2 separate regions of the Homo sapiens genome follow, and region 1 is linked to region 2. The links are contacts of gene promoters, found by promoter capture Hi-C in human tissues and cell types (Jung and others, 2019). All regions are on one chromosome and are shown on one strand. Each heading gives the region's core, a stretch centred on a gene start or on the middle of the fragment in contact. The rest is flanking DNA. Distances are from core to core; before and after follow the strand shown. Region 1 has its middle 16 kb from the start of PTS. Region 2 holds the start of TIMM8B (translocase of inner mitochondrial membrane 8 homolog B).

Region 1 (4,690 bases), core at 263-2,762, 150 kb after region 2:
AGCCTCCCAAAGTGCTGGGATTATGGGCATGAGCCACTGCACCCGGCCCCATTCATTTTTTCAAATGAGAAACCTGGGAGTTCTTTTTGACCTACTCCTTCCCCTTCCCACCTCTTAAATCTAATCTATCAGAAGGTTCTGGTTCTACCTCCAACATGTATAATGGTTTTTGTCTGTCTCTCGTTTTTTAGTTTTCTTTTTTTTTTGGGCGGGGGGGAACTGAGTATTGCTCTGTCACCCAGGCTGGAGTGCAGTGGCGCGATCTTGACTCAGTGCAGCTTCCGCCTCCCAAATTCAAGTGATTCTCCTGCCTCACCCTTCCGAGTAGCTGGGATTACAGTTGTGTGCCACCATGCCTGGCTAATTTTTATATTTTTAGTAGAGACGGGGTTTCACCATGTTGGCTAGGCTGGTCTTGAACTCCTTACCTCAGGTGATCTGCCCGCCTTGGCCTCCCAATGTGCTGGGATTACAGGCGTGAGCCACCGCGTCTGGCCCTGTCTCTCATTTCTGATGTCACCACATGAGTCCAAACCGCCACTGTTTCTTGCTTGGATTACTGACATGGCCTCTTAACTGGTCTCTGCCTTCCCCTTTAGTTCTGTTCCACAATCCTATGGATCTTTCTAAAAGAGTAAATTAGATCTTGTCACTTCCCTCCCCCGTATCACCACTTGAAAGCTTCCTCCTGCTTTAGGAATATAATCCAAACTCCCCACACTATCTACCAAGCCTGATAGGATCCAGTCCCTGCCTGCTTCCCAGCCTCAAGCCCTTCACTGTTTTGGTTACATTAGCCTGCTCTGAAGTCCTCAGACGCACCAATTCCATTCCTGTCTCTAGAGCTCTGCATTTACTGCCCTTCTCCCTGAACTGCCGCTCCCCTAAATCCCCTGCAGAAAAACCTAAGCATTCTTCAGATCTCAGCTTACATGTCACCCTCTTGGAGAAGCCTTCCTCAGGCCAGCCGTATAGATAGAACCTTGTTGTATTCTAGGACAATACCATATACTCCTCTTTCTTGCAGTTTTAAAGTTTTGTATATTTGCTTCCTTTTGTCTTTTTCACTAGTTTACTGTCCATCCCAACCACGAGGGTGTCAGCTTCACAAGGGCTGAAGCCCTGTCTGTCTGGTTCATTCTTGTCTCCCCAGGACCTAGTGTAATGCCTGCCATACAACAGGTGCTGAATAATTATTTACAGGATGAATGAATGTGCCTGCCATCTCTAAAGAAGTGGTGAATCTAGTAATCTGGTTTGGTAAATTTTTTGAGATTTAATAGCTAGACTACAAGTGTATACCACCATGTCTGGTTAATTTATATTAGATAGATAGACAGATAGATAGATAGATAGATAGACAGATAGATAGATTTTTAGTAGAGACAAAGATGTTGCTATGTTGCCCAGGATAGTCTTGAACTCCTGGGCTCAAGTGATCCTCCTGCCTTGGCCTCCCAAAGTGCTGGGATTATAGGCATGAGCCACTGCATCTGGTCTAATGCCAAACTTCTTGAGCATCATTCAGATAGGTGTTATTCTTTATGCAGCTCAGCTTAGAGAACAACCACTACAATATAAAATAAAATTTCGTAAGTATTCCTTCAAAGCTGTTTATCTGCCTAACTTAATCTTCCTGGGAATTTTCCATTGCTATTTGTGGATACAATTTGTTTTAGTCTTCAACTACTGATTTAGGTAAAGATAAGCCAGAACTCTAAATCCCAGCCCTTTTGGTAAATGGCCATCCTCATGACCACACAAGGGGCCTCCCTTTTAGCAGGGTAAACAATAAAGGTTGCATGTATTTGTCTCTCTCCCAGCTGTTGGAGAATAGATTTGTCTTAGGCAGGGAGAGCCTCAGCTGATTTTGCAAAGAATGCTCTTTATCATTCTATCTGTTTGGCCGCGAGAGCAGGATTCCTTCTGGAATGTGGAACTGACCTCATTTGTGGTAACACTGAGGCAATATTTATTTTCTGGCAAATGTGAGCCTCCTAATTTGTTGCTGTAATAACCCTCAGTAATTCCCAGATTACTAGGCGGAGAGTCAAGGCTCCATTCTTGAAGGGGAAAATGGTGTTTGCAAAAGAAAAAAAATGCAACTTAACCAGATTGTGGGGTATAGCATATTCCACCCACATGTGAGAGCAGGTTGATGTCTGTGTGTTTCTGTAAAGGGGTCTCAGACCAGACCCAAAGACCGGGTTCTTGGACCTCACACAGGAAAGAATTCAGGGTGAATCACAGAGTCTGGTGAAGTTAAGATGGTTTATTAGAAACTACTCTTATTAAAGAGTAAGATGTCCTCAGAAAGCAAGAGGAGGAACACCCCTACCTCAAACATGATGCTTGCTTATATAGGATATTAGTGTAACTGAGTACTCCCGTTTGTCTAAGAAAAAGAGTTATTTTTTAAATTATTATTATTTGTTCTTTTTTCTTTCTGCTTTCCCCCTGCTCCCAACTTCCTACTTAGCTCTTCAGAAATGCAATTATAACCTTTTACCTCCCTTCACCAGCTACTCCCTACAGGGCAAGTTCATCTAACATGCCAAGTCCCCCTTTAAAAGCACCTGCTTTCTGCTCCAAAAGGGAAGTGGTACCCTGAAAGGCAGGAGCCTTTACGTCTTCCTCTAAGCTAGCTTTGGAATAAAAAGTCACTTTCTTTTTTCTTTTTCTTTTTCTTTTCTTTCTTTTTTTTTTGAAATGGAGTCTCGCTCTGTCGCCCAGGCTGGAGTGCAGTGGCGTGATCTCGGCTCACTGCAAGCTCCGCCTCCCGGGTTCACGCCATTCTCCTGCCTCAGCCTCCTGAGTAGCTGGGACTACAGGCACCCGCCACCACGTCCTGCTAATTTTTTGTATTTTTAGTAGAGATGGGGTTTCACCGTGTTAGCCAGGATGGTCTCGATCTCCTGACCTCATGATCCGCCCACCTCGGCCTCCAAAGTGCTGGGATTACAGGCATGAGCCACCGTGCCCAGCCAAAAGTCACTTTCTTTATACCAGATCTTGCTCTTGTTAACTGGACTCTGTAAGTGGCATGTGACTGAACCTGATTTTTGATTACATAAGGGCTAAGAATAATGTGCTTTATCGTATGTTTATTGCAGCACTATTTACAATAGCAAAGACTTGGAACCAACTCAAATGCCCATCAATGATAGACTGGATAAAAAAAATGTGGCACATATACACCATGGAATACTATGTGGCCATAAAAAAGAATGAGTTCATGTCCTTTGCGGGGACGTGGATGAAGCTGGAAACCATCATTCTCAGCAAACTAACACAGGAACAGAAAACCAAACACCACATGTTCTCACTCATAAGTGGGAGTTGAACAATGAGAACACATGGACAAAGGGAGGGGAACATCACACACTGGGGCCTGTCAGGGGGCAGGAGGAGGGACAGCATTAGGAGAAATACCTAATATAGATGCTGGGTTGATGGGTGCAGCAAACCACCATGACACATGTATACCTACGTAACAAACCACATTCTGTATGTGTATCCCAGAACTTAAAGTATAATTAAAAAAAAGTGTGCTTTATTAAAAAGACTTGGGGTCAATTTACGACAGGCTATTAGTATTGTTATTCTCTTGTGTAATTATTGATTTCAGCAAGAATTTATGAGTGTACTATGATTTTTAAAGCAAAACCTATTCTTAAACTAAGAATGCTTTTTGTCCCCTCCCCCATCCTGCCCTTTTTCTTTTGAGACAGAGTCTCACTATCTCCCAGGCTGGAATGCAGTGACACAATCACAGCTCACTTCAGCCTTGATCTCCTTGGGTTCAGGTGATCCTCCTGCCTCAGTCTCCCAGGTAGCTGGGACTCAAGTTCACACCACCACACCTAGCTAAATTTTTGCATTTTTTTTGGAAGAGATAGGGTAAAGTATCTTCTCTGAACATAATGTAATAAAACTAGAAATCAATAACAAGAGGAACCTTGGAAAATATGCATACACATGGAATTAAACAACATGCTCCTTGACCAAGGGGTCAATGAAGAAATTAAGAAGGAAATTTAAAAATTTCTTGAAGCAAATGAAAATGGAAATACAACATACCAAAATCTATAGGGTATGGCAAAAGCAGTACTAAGAGGGAAGTTTATAGCAAAAACACTTATAACAAAAAAGTAGAAATATTCCAAAGAAACAACCCAATAATGCACCTCAAGGAACTAGAAAAGCAAGAACAAACCAAACCCAAAATAGGTGGAAGGAAAGAAATAATAAAGATCAGAGAAGAAATAAGCGAAATTGAGCCAAAAAATACAGAAGATCAACAAAATGAGAAGTTGGTTTTTTGAAAAGATAAACAAAACTGATAAACCTTTAGCTAGACTAAGAAGAAACGTGAGAAGACCCAAATGAATAAAATCAGAAATGAAAAAAGGAGACATAACGACTGAGACTTCAGAAATACGAAGAATCATTAGAGACTATTATGAACAAGCATAAACTAATAAATTGGAAAACCTGGAAGAAATGAATAAATGAAGAAATGAAATTATACTTTTCATCTTCTATTCTATGTACAACATACCAAGAGTGAATTGTGAAGAAATAGAAAACCTCAACAAACCAATAGCTAGTAATGAGATCAAAGGTATAATAAAATGTCTTCCATCAAGGAAAAGCCTAGGACCTGATGGATTCACAGGAGAATTCAAAC
Region 2 (2,945 bases), core at 446-2,945:
GAAGAGTTGGAGAATTCACACTTATTGAGTAACTGATGTCATACAACCTGGAATTTCTGAATTCCAAATAAATAAATTTCACTCTTTGAACATTTCATCTTTTACTTTTTAGCACCAACAGACTTGATAACAGCCTGATGCTGATCTGACAATGGGTTGATAGCCTTCCCCCACTGACCCTTAAATCTGCTTAGTAACAAGTCCTTTGCTTCTGTCATTCTCCTGGGGGATGGCCTACTGCCCTCCTTTCTGTACAATCTGGGCAAACCGACTGGTGATGGCAAGAGTGGTGTCAATGAAGCGGTCTACACAGCTGGAGAGACAATTTTCAGTGCGAGAGTCTAGGCGATTCCCTGGCTTCTCCACACATTTATCCCAACATAACTCCATGAAGTGATGCACCTAAAAGGAAAGAAAAATAGTAACCATTGGGGTCTGCAGATAGGCCTAACTCTTGTTTATTAACTTCTCACTTTTTGACACCTGACAAAACCATTCTTTAAATCAACCACGGAGTCACTTTGGGCTCTTCTCTTTCTTCATTTCCTAATTAGTCACCAATATTGATCCAGATCCTCGTCCCTACAGATTGTACATTCTCAGGTAGGACTAATAACCTTTTATATTCCCCAAAGTAGCTAGCACCATTGTGAACCAACTAGGGAACCAATTAATTTTCCCAAACTATTGCACTCATTTTATTCCAAACCTATCCCCTAGACAAGGTAATTCTTCCATTAACCTTTTGGGGGTTATGGATCCACTCCCCAGAAAAATGCACATACAGGCACAGAAATTATGTGCACTGTCATTAGAATGTTCAGGGCCCAAAGATTTCTAGCCAGGGTTCTTGCTGGTCATCCGAGCACCCTCTTCCTCCCACCCAAAAGGAAAAAACCATTTTACCAAGAGCTTACTATTTGTGAGGCTGGGTACTAAGAAATCAGTTCTCTCTAAGGTCCTCAAGGATAGCTGTCATCACCTCCCATTTAAGAGGCGTGATTATGTAGTCCAAGGTCATGTAGCCAGCAAGAAGTCAGGCCGCGTTAGAACCATGTCCGAAGGGCTCCAAACCCTTGTTCTACATCCATAGTCTACAGCGACTACTTCAGAGTCCACCTTCCTCCGATAATGTTCTAGTCGTTTTCAAATACATTGTCGCATATGATCCTCACAATCCAGTGAGGCAGTGGGGTGACGGCGACACCAAAACCCACAGTGGATGAGTATCTTTTCTACGGGCACGTGGCCTGCAAGGAGCAGAGGGAGGATGAGAACCCAGATCTTTCGAATGCCAGCCCAGTCATGTCGCCGGCTAACTAGTCTCCCGTACCCTTGCGTCGCCCAAATCTTCCCTGTTTTACACCTTTTCTTTTCTCCACGCTACGCTTATATACCTGGCACCTGAGCACTACCGGTCACCAGGGACAGGAGAGCCATAACTTTGTCTTTCGTGAGGGGAATGGGATGCAGCCGGGATCGAGCACCAGTGAGCCGCCAGTGTACAGACCTCCGAGCGTGCCCAGGACCACCAAGGAAGGTGAAACTTCCTTTCCCTTCACCCTCCCCGTCCCCGCACCTGTGCAGTAAACTGCGCCTTCTGCTGCTCGGCGGCCACCAGGCGCTGCAACTCCGCTTCATCGGCTTCGCCCAGCTCCGCCATTGTTCGCCTCAGGCTCGCCACCTTCCGACAGCTGTGTTTGCGCATGCGCGACGGGTGTGCACCGCCTCTCGACTTCCGGTTCACCCAGCATTTCCTCTTCCCTGTTTTCTTTCGTCGTCGTGGGTGGGAATTGTCGCCTAAGTGGTTCCGGGTTGGTGGATGACCTTGAGCCCTCAGGAACGAGATGGCGGTTCTCTGGAGGCTGAGTGCCGTTTGCGGTGCCCTAGGAGGCCGAGGTGAGGGGTCTTCCCACCCTGAGGTGCTTAGCGTAGCCTCCAGCCAGGGAAGGGGATGGAAGTGAGGACTCATCTGCCGGGTGGGAGATCTCTTGAGGAGAAGAAAATACCGAAATCACAGCAATGACCACTGTAGTCTAGGGGTCCAGATGTTTACCCGAAGGTATATTTCACTTGCTGTGAGCTGACGAGTTGAGGGAATAATCAGAAAGAGAGCTCCCTCTGGAAGTCGCAGTCCTGATGAGGCTAATCCACATAGCAGTTCTGTTTTCTCCCCGTTCACTGTCCCTAGAATGCTCCCCACTCGCTCCCACCCTGAGTCGGGAAAGAGGGTTAGGAGCTTGCCCATTTCTTCTGGAGTTGGTGTGTTTGGATGTGGGAGTGGAGGGGGGATCAGTTCGAAAATCATTTAACCTGGGCATTTGTGTTACCTCAGGTACTGTAGTAATGCTAGGATACAAATGTGAAGAAAACGTAGTTCCCGCCCTCAACGAGCTTTCATTCTGATGAGGAAAACACTGTCATAGTAGTCCGGGCAAGATGAGGTCCTGAACTAGGAAAGTAGCACAAAGAAAAGAAGATTGTCTCAAGAACTGTTAAAGAGATACGCCAATAGGATTTGGCGATTGAATTTAGGGGAAAAGTCTCTCATGATTTCCAGATTACTGAGTTAGGTTAAAGAATGCCTGAGGTGTCATTAAATAAAGTAGGGAACATGCAGATGTTCCCTGGTCTTAACTTCACAGTAACCCCAGTGAAATAGATGCTATCTTCATTTTACAAATAAGATGTTATCCCCTATTTATTGTTAAGTAGCTTACCTATGGTCATTTAGAAAGTTTGTCAGTCCTGTTAAAGGAGAGGTTCTTATGATCATCCTAATGACTCTTTCCTCAGCTCTGTTGCTTCGAACTCCAGTGGTCAGACCTGCTCATATCTCAGCATTTCTTCAGGACCGACCTATCCCAGAATGGTGTGGAGTGCAGCACATACACTTGTCACCGAGCCACCATTGTATGTTCTCTCCATCGCTGCTGCTTTCTGGG

The links. The method cuts DNA at HindIII sites, captures the fragments that hold promoters and counts their contacts. A contact is called where the count stands out against the background at its distance.
Region 1: a fragment that was not itself captured here is called in contact with the fragment with the promoter of TIMM8B in region 2 in 1 of the 25 tissues and cell types used here (bladder).

The regions. Positions count from the first base shown.
Region 1 is chr11:112,239,806-112,244,495 of GRCh38, forward strand. No RefSeq gene overlaps it. Among named protein-coding and RNA genes, the nearest start is that of PTS, 16 kb to the left of the region's middle. The HindIII fragment of the contact is 5,450 bases long and covers 1-4,237 here.
Region 2 is chr11:112,085,061-112,088,005 of GRCh38, forward strand. TIMM8B (translocase of inner mitochondrial membrane 8 homolog B) reads right to left here and starts at 1,696. Exons shown (of 2, transcript NM_012459.4): 1 at 1,580-1,696; 2 at 1-402. The coding sequence starts at 1,663. The coding sequence ends at 235. It overlaps SDHD (succinate dehydrogenase complex subunit D), which reads left to right and starts at 1,813. Exons shown (of 4, transcript NM_003002.4): 1 at 1,813-1,899; 2 at 2,797-2,913. The coding sequence starts at 1,848. It overlaps NKAPD1 (NKAP domain containing 1), which reads left to right. Exons shown (of 6, transcript NM_018195.4): 6 at 1-90. RefSeq lists enhancers at 1,251-2,450, 1,814-2,083, 2,777-2,945. The HindIII fragment of the contact is 14,912 bases long and covers 1-2,945 here.